Regions from separate parts of the Homo sapiens genome. Here region 2 is linked to region 1. The links are contacts of gene promoters, found by promoter capture Hi-C in human tissues and cell types (Jung and others, 2019). All regions are on one chromosome and are shown on one strand. The core of a region is centred on a gene start or on the middle of the fragment in contact, and the rest is flanking DNA. Distances in the headings are between cores, read along the strand shown. Region 1 holds the start of HOXD1 (homeobox D1). Region 2 holds the start of MTX2 (metaxin 2).

The links. Contacts are between HindIII fragments. The study calls those that stand out against the background at their distance.
Region 2: the fragment with the promoter of MTX2 here is called in contact with the fragment with the promoter of HOXD1 in region 1 in 1 of the 25 tissues and cell types used here (adrenal gland).

The regions. Positions count from the first base shown.
Region 1 is chr2:176,184,165-176,190,335 of GRCh38, forward strand. HOXD1 (homeobox D1) reads left to right here and starts at 4,504. Exons shown (of 2, transcript NM_024501.3): 1 at 4,504-5,289; 2 at 5,644-6,171. The coding sequence starts at 4,638. The coding sequence ends at 5,978. It overlaps HAGLR (HOXD antisense growth-associated long non-coding RNA), which reads right to left and starts at 4,794. Exons shown (of 3, transcript NR_033979.2): 1 at 4,650-4,794. It overlaps MIR7704 (microRNA 7704), which reads left to right and starts at 4,679; the gene lies at 4,679-4,737. The HindIII fragment of the contact is 12,505 bases long and covers 1-6,171 here.
Region 2 is chr2:176,265,094-176,271,079 of GRCh38, forward strand. It overlaps MTX2 (metaxin 2), which reads left to right and starts at 4,349. Exons shown (of 10, transcript NM_006554.5): 1 at 4,349-4,576. The coding sequence starts at 4,537. RefSeq lists enhancers at 3,990-4,617, 4,618-5,243 and a silencer at 4,196-4,285. The HindIII fragment of the contact is 8,349 bases long and covers 1-5,986 here.

The sequences.
Region 1 (6,171 bases), core at 3,254-5,753:
GCACAGCACTTTAAATGGTTTTCCTCAGGGAATGTCATATTGTCAGATTTCCAACAGGTTTAGAATTCTTGTCCTTAGGACTCCTTTGCATCCCTACCTCCATCCTAGGATGACTGAGGGATGCTACAGAGAACTGCATCTTAATCTTCACTTTCTCTTAATGTGGATTAAGAAAAAAAAGACACCCACCCTTTTTTACCCCAACAAACAAGATTTTCTGTGACTTGGGGTTAGGAAGCCAAGCGTTGCAATGTGCTCAAGTGCCTCCAAGCGGTAACACAGTGGGACTTGTCTAGAGGGCTTACCCGGAGCTTCTTGAAAACAACTTAAAACACACAGAAGCAATCCCTGCATTTTGGGAGGGTGAGGTAGGTGGATCACTTGAGGTCAGGAGTTCGAGACCAGCCTGGCCAACATGGCAAAACCCTGTCTCTACTAAGAATATAAAAATTAGCTGGGTGTGGTGGCATGTGCCTGTAGTCCCAGCTACTTGGGAGGCCGAGGCATGAGAATCGCTTGAACCCGGGAAGTGGAGGTTGCAGTGAGCCAATATCGTGCCACTGCATTCCGGCCTGGGTGACAAACCGAGACTCCATCTCAAAAATAAAATAAAATAAAATAAACACACAGAAAACCAGACTGCCACCCTTTATCACTTCTGTCTGCAGAAAAGAGGCTAGTTATTAGAAAGGGAGAGAAAGGTAGTCATGAAAGGGATAGGGAGTGGGTAGGGGGTGGCTGCTGTGGTGAGCAGGATGGGAGAGATTTCAAAGCATTCCTACATCAAACACAAGCTGGCAATTGGGCCCCTCTGCTGTCACCTCCCGTGGAGAACTCAGCACCAGGACCCAGCAGAGCAAGTGACCCTGGGGAATTCATGGCTTGACAAGTAATAAAATTAGTAAGACATTTCTCCCATACTTGGTGAACATCTAAGAGACAAACTTTAATGTTACTCAAAATATGCTATATTCACATCTTTCTATATTTCCCCAATAATATCTTCCAATTTCTCCTTAGATAATTATACATTAAGATTCCTCTAGAGTAGATTTATAGTATAGCTAAAACCTGTGTCAGAAATAAATCTCTAGCTCCTTTGGTTTAAGACTGTCTTTTCCCTAGCCTAACTTTCTCCTAACAAAATGTCATTACATAGTAAATCCTTGGCAAACATCTGTTGAATTTGAGTATGAGATGACCAGAGTCATGACTTCCAACCTGAGCAAGTCAAGAACCAGTCCAAGAATGGAGATGCTAACTCTGAGCCCCAAGGTGTGGGATATGCCAAGGATTTGGAGATTAAGGGAGTGGAGAGAAGGGTGAACAGAATGTAGCTTTCTTTTTGTTTGAGACGGAGTCTCGCTCTGTCACCCAGGCTGGAGTGCAGTGGCATGATCTTGGCTCACTGCAACCTCCACCTCCTGGGTTCAAGCGATTCTTCTGCCTCAGCCTCCCAAGTAGCTGGGACTACAGGCGTGTGCCACTAATTTATTTTTATTTTTATTTTTTTTAGTAGAGATGGGGTTTCACCGTGTTAGCCGGGCTGGTCTTGATCTCCTGACCTCGTGATCCACCCATCTCAGCCTCCCAATGTGCTGGGATTACAGGTGTGAGCAACCGTGCCCAGCCAGAATGTAGTTTTCTGTATGCGATTATCAAAGAAATGCTATTGGGTCTGAACAAATATTGAACACCTCTCCCTCGCTCTCACCCACAGTTGTGAAAACAAAACAAAACAAAACAGTATTTTTAAAAACTTCATTCTTTTTTAGGGCACTTTCTTCCCTCAGAAAGGCTAAATCTCCAAAATTTTACTTGATGGAGCTAGTGTGGATAGCTCATGGGTGCATTAAAGTCAAGGCCTAATTATATCATGAAGGACCCAGCCTTTGCCCCAAATGCCCAGGAGGAAAAACTTAGTCTTTGTTGCCATGAAAGCTGCCAGGACACCTAGGCAGCCTGATTTTTCTGAAACCTTAGAGAAAAGGCCCTTAATTTGAGGGGTTTTGGTCAGACTTGCCGGACAGTCAGGCTGACTCTTCTGCCCTAAACCCTGGGTTGCAGCCGGCTGGATGTCTTCCCCAAAGAGGTTTACAAAGTCATCCTTCCTTCTTGACCCATGGGGCCTCTAGGCTTTGGAGTTGTGATAGGATAAGTATCATTTGAGGGAACACTGTGAGAGCTGGGACATCTTGCAGATAAAAACTGGCTATTAAAATCTAGCCAGAGGTGGAGGAGGGGGCATTGTGAACTCAGCAGCATCTTATTTGCTGTTACTTTTGCATAAATGGCACAGGAGAGCAGTGAAGAAACGTGTCTACATTTTAAGGCTGAGCTAGCTCTGAAGAGCTCTAACATTTCCTAACTGGGGTGTTAGGGAAGAACTTTTATTTTTCTCTTCTTAAAAATTATTTAGGGCCGGGCGCGGTGGCTCACGCCTGTAATCCCAGCACTTTGGGAGGCCGAGGCGGGCGGATCACGAGGTCAGGAGATCGAAACCATCCTGGCTAACACGGTGAAACCCCGTCTCTACTAAAAATACAAAAAATTAGCCGGGCATAGTGGTGGGCGCCTGTAGTACCAGCTACTCGGGAGGCCGAGGCAGAAGAATGGCGTGAATCGGGGAGGCTGAGCTTGCAGTGAGCCGAGATCGCGCCACTGCACTTAAAAAAAAAAATTAAATAAATAAATAAATAAAAATTATTTAGGACCTTATCTGACTGGCTATAGCACAACTGAAATAGCAAAATCAAGATTGAAGGGCTATTTTCAGCACAGGTATTCCATTTCCAATCAAACTCAAGAACTCCAGCAGTGCAGGAACCACAGACCTCTTTAACTTTGTGCTGATTCCTAGGCATCCACCCTCTACTGGCTCCCCTCAACCTGGGGACATCCCTCCCCCATCCTGCAGCAACTTCGGGTCCATCAGTAGTCCACATTTTGGTAGGGCTTTGTTTATTCACAAGTCCACAACCCTGGAAGGAACTGGCTCCCTGGGCTGTGATGGCGCCTATTCTAAAGACTTCCTCAGAGTGGAAATTTAGGCAACAACAGCTCAATCGCTCTTTTATGACAAGTCAATCAGTAAAACAATGATAAAACCTCGGTTACCATAACTTAGAGGCTGTAATAGATTAACTTTTCAAGGGCACTTGATATAAGCTCTGAGTAGACTCTTTAGAGTCTTTATTCACACAGGGTTTTAGGAAACCACCCTCTTTCATAACTACTGTGTGTAAATAACCTCTATTTATCTAATTTGTAATTTTCCTACAGTCCCCTCAAAAGGGAACATTAAAAGAAATACTAAAGGAAGTTGGAAAGTTTGTCAATGTAAAGCTGGTCTTTGTAACCTTTCTACTCTTCATTTCCTGTGGCAATTGCACTTTTATTTCCCGTCTCTCTACACTCAGTAAACAAAACCATATTATCAAGGGAAAGACGTGAGCCCATTAACATTGTGAGCCCTCAGATTTCACTCACAAGAGACGATGCAGCACTTATCTGATGGAGCAGAAGCTCTAATTGCTTCGAGGTACAAGTCCATCTAAACCTCTGAGATCTCACCCGTCCCCGGTAAGCCCTTGCGCCCTCCAGACAAGCTCCTCAGTGAAAGCAAGCGCCGCACCGGTGCCTGTGCCAGTCTCCCAGAAAGGAGCATAAGGAGTGTTCCACCACCACTCTGGATTCTTTATTCCAACAACCCAGCCGGAGGGGAAAATCTGCTAAACCACCCCACAAGGCAGAAACTTTATCAAAATCTGGCACTACAACACTGGCCCTCATCACGCCGCCACAAATTGCGAGGGATAGAAGAAAGCTGCAAAGTCACGTTAAAAGGAAGCCTAGTCAAAAAGTGAAAATTTTGTCCCGCCCTAGGCACACAGCACTCACAGCATAAGATGTAGTTCCATGAGTCCTAGGAAAGGGGGAAGAAAGGAAAAAACCAAACATCTGCTCTAGGTTTAGAAGAGGGATAACATCAGCGCCAAGCAAACCGAAAGCGCAGAGGACTCAGAAGAGGGGAAGAGGAATAACTTTATCTGTCCTGGAGGTGGGCGAAGAGCAGTCTCCACCGGCCGCGCGTCACGCTCCCATTTAACCTTTTCCATGCCGCGACGCCCACACTCCGCCCTCGAGGGACTAGCCCCCCCCACGATCCAGAGCAGAAGCGGCTCGCCCCGCTGCATCCACGGGCCCTCACCCAAGCGTCCAGTCCTGCCTTTCTCCCCCCACCTCGCCCAATACCTGTCCGAGAGCAGGCGTTCTGCCCTCTCGCCCCGCCCTTGCCCAGGCAGCCCCCGGTCGCGACGGCTCTCCTCGGGGCTCGGGGGCGCTGGGCGGCGGCCCTGGGCTGCTTTGGCTAACTTGGCTGCGGGGCAGGCGCGAGGAGCGGCGCGCCGACCGGGCCGAGCGGAGAGGCCGCCCATTGGCCGGCCAGCGCCACGTGGCCGCCCCCGCCGGTATATTAGGCCACTATTTACCTCCGGCTCACTCGCCATGGGTTGGAGAGGGCAGCTCGGGTAGAGAGGGCTGGCGGAGCGGCGCAGACGGCGGCAGTCCTGCTCAGCCTCTGCCCGGCTCCGTACTCCGGCCCCGGCCTGCGCCCTCAGAAAGGTGGGGCCCGAACCATGAGCTCCTACCTGGAGTACGTGTCATGCAGCAGCAGCGGCGGGGTCGGCGGCGACGTGCTCAGCTTGGCACCCAAGTTCTGCCGCTCCGACGCCCGGCCCGTGGCTCTGCAGCCCGCCTTCCCTCTGGGCAACGGCGACGGCGCCTTCGTCAGCTGTCTGCCCCTGGCCGCCGCCCGACCCTCGCCTTCGCCCCCGGCCGCCCCCGCGCGGCCGTCCGTACCGCCTCCGGCCGCGCCCCAGTACGCGCAGTGCACCCTGGAGGGGGCCTACGAACCTGGTGCCGCACCTGCCGCGGCAGCTGGGGGCGCGGACTACGGCTTCCTGGGGTCCGGGCCGGCGTACGACTTCCCGGGCGTGCTGGGGCGGGCGGCCGACGACGGCGGGTCTCACGTCCACTACGCCACCTCGGCCGTCTTCTCGGGCGGCGGCTCTTTCCTCCTCAGCGGCCAGGTGGATTACGCGGCCTTCGGCGAACCCGGCCCTTTTCCGGCTTGTCTCAAAGCGTCAGCCGACGGCCACCCTGGTGCTTTCCAGACCGCATCCCCGGCCCCAGGCACCTACCCCAAGTCCGTCTCTCCCGCCTCCGGCCTCCCTGCCGCCTTCAGCACGTTCGAGTGGATGAAAGTGAAGAGGAATGCCTCTAAGAAAGGTAAGTCCGCGGGCCTTGGATGGGGCCACCTGGGGTTGGGGACGGAGCCTCCCCCGCGGAAATGCGCTGGGAGCGTGGTGTCGCTGCCTTTCCAGACAGCGGTTTGGGTTTTGTGGAGGAGACGCGTTCCCGGGCGAATTCCATGGAGTCTGCCTCGAGTACAGATTCGGAAAATGTGCCAGGCATTGAGAAAATTTCAGGAAGGAGCTCTCCGTGGAACTTCTCCTGGTACAAATTCTGTTCCTAGGGACCCAGGAGGGCTGCGCTGGGACTTTGATTCTAACTAGCTCCACTGCTCACCCACATTCTGTCCCCGGCCTCAGGCCTGGCTGACGCCCTGTCTTTACGTTGCAGGCAAACTCGCCGAGTATGGGGCCGCTAGCCCCTCCAGCGCGATCCGCACGAATTTCAGCACCAAGCAACTGACAGAACTGGAAAAAGAGTTTCATTTCAATAAGTACTTAACTCGAGCCCGGCGCATCGAGATAGCCAACTGCTTGCACCTGAATGACACGCAAGTCAAAATCTGGTTCCAGAACCGCAGGATGAAACAGAAGAAAAGGGAACGAGAAGGGCTTCTGGCCACGGCCATTCCTGTGGCTCCCCTCCAACTTCCCCTCTCTGGAACAACCCCCACTAAGTTTATCAAGAACCCCGGCAGCCCTTCTCAGTCCCAAGAGCCTTCGTGAGGCCGGTACTTGGGGCCGAAAAACTGTGGCCTGCAGAAGTCCCAGGCGACCCCCATCCCTATCTAGACTTAGGAGCTCAGTTTGGGATGGAGGTGGGAGAACAAAAATGAATAGGGATTTCACTTGGGAAATGAAGTACTTTAGTTGGCTTCCGAGTTCCAGACTATATGTCCAGATATTAATTGACTGTCTT
Region 2 (5,986 bases), core at 3,099-5,598, 81 kb after region 1:
GAGTTGAGGGATATAAGGATGAATGACTGTCACATTTATCTACCCTTTTAAAAATATCTTTGTAAACCTTATATATTAGATTGCTTATAGTTGTCTACAGTTTGTTTCTAAAGCAGTAAAGACTATTAACAGAGGAACTTAAGGCACTGAAGCATAACATTGTTACAGATATGGTTTGGATTCGTATCCCTGCTCAAATCTCATGTACAATTGGAGAAGAGGCCTGGTGGGAGGTGATGGGATCATGGGGGCAGATTTCCCCCTTGCTGTTCTCGTGATAGTGAGTTTTCACGAGATCTGATCCTTTAAAGGTGTGTGGCACTTCTCCCTTCTCTTTCTCTTCCTCCTGCTCCACCATGGCAAGACATGCTTGCTTCCCCTTTGCCTTCCACCATGATTGTAAGTTTCCTGAGGCCTCCCAGCCACGCTTCCTGTTCAGCCTGCAGACTGTGAATCAATTAAACCTCTTTTCTTTATAGATTACCCAGTCTCAGGTAGTTCTTTATAGCAGTGTGAGAATGAACTAATACAGTTATTTTAGTGTTTTTAACTGTATTAACACTCTATTTGGGTTGATTGATTTAACTATAGTTAATTCTGTTGATGAGGTATGAGGGAGTAATTTGATAAAAAGGTCTGAATTTATATATTGTTCTTAAGTAAATAGTAATTTTAAAGGAATCATAGACAAAAATGTTTCCTTGCTGACACCTTTTTAAAAATAAAACGTTTACCTTAAAAATATTAACATTCTGTCAGAGAAAATTAAAAGGTAGATAAAATATCTTAGTATTTTAATCTTAATAAAGTATATATTCATCATAATAACTGCTTATTTTCTTACATTTAATACAGTAACATAAAAGTCTAGATTAGGGACATGAAAATATTCTATAATAGTTTTGCAAGAAAGTGATTTTATTAGGGCAAACAATAAGACTGTTAATGTCATGCATTGATATTTTATTTAAAAAATTGTGTAATTATTTTTTTAGTAACATATGGATTCCCCAGCACTTTTGTTTTATAACCTCATTCTTAAAAATTCTGGTGGCTTGTTTTCTTGTATTTCCCTCAATTGTGGTGATCTTAAACAGATCTTCAGTTTTAAATCTGCCGTTCGTTCTAATACAGATGCGTAAATATATTTTCTCCAGTTGGCTATTTATTACAAAGACAGTTTATTTGTGGGCACCATAAAGACATCTGCATTTTACTGAACTTAATTTTTAGTAATAAAGACCTCCCACATTACAGATTCTTTCCAGCCTAAATGTGCCTGTGTGGGAAGCAAAAGAACCATCAGTCAGGGGGAAAAAGTGAATCCATATGGTGCTGATGATTCTGCTTCCCTGGCTAAAATGAAGAAAGAGTTGAGTATCGACAATGCCCCCGGCACATCTCTGTTTTTTTCTAAAAAGCATGCTGCTATGGCTTGAATATTTGTGTCCCTCAACAACTCATATGTTGAAACTCAATTGCCACTATGGTAGTATTAAGAAGAGGTGGGGAATTTAGGAGGTAATTAGGTCAAGAGGGCTCTGCCCTTATGTATGGGATTAGTGTCCTTATAAAAGAGGCCCAAGGGAGTTTATTTGCCCCTTTTGCCCTTCTGCCATGTGAGGACATGTACAAGGTGCTATCTGTGAGAACTGGGACCCCCAAGACACTGAATCTGCTGGTGCCTTGATCATGGACTTTCCAACCTCCGAAAGTCAGGGCAGTATATTTCTGTTTATAAATTATCCAGACTAAGATATTTTGTTATAGCAGCCCTAATGGACTAAGGCACTTGCCATAATAAAGATGATTGGTGTCAGTCCCAAACCAGTACCTTCCAGCCAGCTCAGTTCATGCATGTATCATGCATCAAGCCATGGGTACTTAACTTAAATTTTAAGGGCACATTCTACTTTGCCTCTAATCTTGCTCTGTTTCTCTTGCATCTGTGTCCAGTCTCTGGCTCTTTCCAGTCTCTTCCACTTTGGGGCTCACTTCTACCCTTTGGATATGTTTGATTTTGGTTTCCCCAGTTGAATCTTCATTACTCTCTAGGGACTTTGGCTCAAGTTCTCACACAGGCCCTATGATATGGAGAAATCTTAAACTTCAAATCTGTCAAAAAGTAGTCAAAATATTGTGTCTTCAGCTTTATAAAAATGACAAACCAAAATTAATAATAGAACTTAAAGTGATGATATGTCTTCTTCATTATTACAGTTATACATAATTCTCCACTGTGAGGAGAACAGACAGGGCCTGAAAGCTTTTCTTTTGATTGATAACAAAGTATCTGGAACAGCTCATTTCTCTTGGTCAATAATACCTATGGGATGAGGAGGAAATTGGATCTCATGTATTCTTTACTATCAGTGTTACCTCTCTCTGCACAAACAAGAAAAACCTATTAATATTATCTTCCCTGTATTTCTACTATTCACAGCTGCTTGTCAACTCTGAATTTCAGCTATAGAGAAGACACTACTTCCTAAGACGCTGCTGTGTTTATGTCAATGTAAATTATTGGGTAAATTTAAATGCTGTTTAAGAAGCTTCCTTTTGCTGAGGGAGATGAAAATATGACTTAACCTTAAAAAAATTATGGGGCTGGGCACAGTGGCTCACGCCTGTAATTCCAGCACTTTGTGAAGCCAAGGCGGGCGGATCATGAGGTCAGGAGTTCGAGACCAGCCTGGCCAACATGGTGAAACCCGGTCTCTACTAAAAATACAAAAATTAGCCGGGCATGGTGGCACGCACCTGTAATCTCAGCTATTTGGGAGGCCAAGGCAGGAGAATCGCTTGAACCTGGAAGGTGGAGGTTGCAGTGGGCCGAGATCACGCCACTGCACTCCAGCCTAGGTGACAGAGCAAGACTCCATCTCAAAAAAAAAAAAAAAAAAAAAGAAAAGAAAAGAAAAGAAATCATGTTAAGATGAGGTCCTGCTGGATTAGGGTGGGGGTCCCTAACACAATGACTGGTGTTATTTCTCAAGAAGAGAGAAATTTGAACACATTGACACACAGGGGGAATGCCGTGTGATGTGGTGGCAGAGATTGGAGTGATGTATCTACAAGCCAAAGTACATGGAAGATTGCCGGCAACCCCCTTCTCTGGAGCCTTGCAAGACAGCATGGCCCTGCTGACACCTTGATTTCAGACTTCTAGCCTCCAGAATTGTGAGAATGAATTTCTGTTGTTTAGCCAACCAGTTTGTGGTAATCTGGCAGCTCTAGGAAACCAACCACGCTAGTTAAGGAGGCAGAATGAACAGTAATAGAGATCTACGGATATAAAGAATGGAAATATAGCTTTCTAAATGTCATGGACAGTAATTCTTAGAATACAGGTTTCCTCTGCAAAAACCTAGTAAGCTGTCTGACTTTTTGATTTACTGTGTGATTTAAAATGAGTTACCTCACCTCTCTGAACTTGTTTCTCATCAGTGAAGGGGGCTTTGGGTTACCAGCTCTGAAGCCTGTCCCACTTGTAATACCACCAATCTGTAATGCATATGATTTTTCTTTAATTGTGTAATTTAAGAAGCTATTAGGTTAAGACAAAGTTACTCAGGGAATTTAGTTTCTCCTCTTCCTGCCCCGTTCACCCCCGAAAGGTGAGAAGTGTGTGAAACTAAAGTATCTTATTCTCCAAGCTGAGCATCATTTCGGGTGTATGGAGTTGAAGGACAAATTACCTTCTGGCTTAGGCGCTGCTCAAGCCTCCTTTCTGCCAAGCATGTTTGAATAAACAACAACAACAAAAAACACTAATGTCTATCCACGGACTAATCAACCCAGCAATATAATGGAATAGAGGGAATTCATGCAGCCTTGAATCTGGTCCTTGGAGGACTGCCTGGGCAGGCAGTTTAAACTCCTTAAGCCTATATTCTTATCCGTAAAATGGCGATAATATTATTACTTTAATGGGTTGTTGAGAAGACGAAGTCAAATAGAATATATGTGTATATATATGTATATATGTGTATATATGTACATGTGTACATATATACGTGTATATATTATATATGTGTGTATGTGTGTGTGTATATATGTATATATGTGTGTGTAGATATAGGTATATAAGTGCCTGGTATCCAGTGGGCGTTTACAAATGTTACTCGGTTACAAAATTCTGGCTTACAGAAAGGACGCTAAAAATCTCCCAGATTCCCCTGCCAGTCCCCTGGGTGGGAGACGAGTCGGGTACTTCGCTTCCACCTGCGGGCCCCCAGCGCAGAGCCTGGAATTGGCTGGACGGAGCTAGCCGCGCCGGCGCCCCGTAGGACGGCGCGGGGGCGGGGCCGGCGGAAGCGCTCGAGTGCCGTTGTCGGCTGCGCCGGAAGTCCCTAGCCAGGCCTGGCGGTAACCTTGGGGGCCTCACTGCAGCCGCCGCTGCTGTTGGAGTGGGCTTTGCGAGTCTGAACGTTGGCGGGGCTAGGCTCGTTAACTGCCGAGAGCCTCCGGGTTTGCGGTGGAGGACGCTGAGGCCCGTGGGGGGCAGGCACCCGGGCGCCGGGCCTCCCAGCCGACATGTCTCTAGTGGCGGAAGCCTTCGTCTCCCAGATTGCAGGTAGCGCGGCTGGCCGCAGACCCAGAAGGTGGCGGCGCGGTCTCGGGGAGCCGCGTGGGGTACAGGGCTGGAGCTTTCCTCCAGCCTTGCGGCATTATACGCTGAACCCGGCCCGGATGGTGGAGGCGGGCACGGACTACCAACCTTATCTCACATATGGGAAAACTGAGAAGGAGACACTTGGCCAAGGTCACCCCGCAGGAGCAGGAGTCCCGTCTCCTTCCCTTGGGCGGTACTTTGTCCCACCTCCCCATTCAGTTGGGAGGTGCTGGAGTATGAGGGGGAGGCCTTGGATTGGGATTGAGGTGGGGGGCGTTACCACAGGGGCAAGCATCTGAACGCTTCAGTCTAAGAGTGGTGGCAGTTTCTGGGTCTTGGTACTCAAAAAGTTTAAGGTGACTGTCACTAATCAGTTGTTACCTATTGTTGAGGGAACACCAGACTTCTTGCTTCGTCTCCCAGCGACACAGTAGTGCCATTTGCTAAGACTCTAGGAGTTATTTATTTATTTATTTGTTGAGACGGAGTTTCTCTTTTGTCACCGAGGCTGGAGTGCAGTGGCACAACCTGGGCTCACTGCAACCTCCGCTTCCCGGGTTCAAGCGATTCTCCTGCCTTAGCCTCCCGAGTAGTTGGGATTACAGGCGCCCGCCACCACGCCCGCGCGGATTCATGGAAAATTTTTAAATCTGCATGTACTTTAAAGAAATACTTTTGAGTCGGTGGACTGAACATGACTGATGTATATAGGTTTGTAATTTCTCTTATTGAGGTTTTTATTTATTGTAATGAAAGAAATTAAATATTGTTGAGAAAGTGAGGAGACTAAACATAGGTACTTTGAGATAGAGGCTAATGGAATTAGTCATAACTCCCTAGCAGTGTTTTCAACATGAGTACAGTAATGAAGACAGTCACCACAATAAATAGGTACATTTGAAGTAATAAGATAGTATTTTGGAAATGGGAAGTACAGAATGTGTCATAAAATTTGCCGGAATGTTTTTCACTGCTTTGCGTTTGTGTGAACGTACATTTCTTTTTTTTCCTTCTTCACTTAAAAACATTATTTTTTAGAGGAGAGAAGCTCCTACTAGATTGCAAGCTTCCTGAAAGTAGGGATCAAACTTGTTTTGTTCCCCATTGTATCCATAGTCAGTTGGTGCTCAATAAATATTTGCGACCCAAATCAATGACTAATCTTGAGATTTCAAGCAATGATTATTTCTGCTTTTACCATTTATGTTGAAACAAAATCAGGCTTATATAGTTAGATCAGCGATTTAATTTAGTTTGCTACTATGTTGAAAAAAAAAACTTCACAGTGTATGTTGAGTGGTTCACTGTGTGCATGTGTCCTAATATGTGATTTCTTTTAATGAGAAAATGATGAATGTCTTTTAATAAACT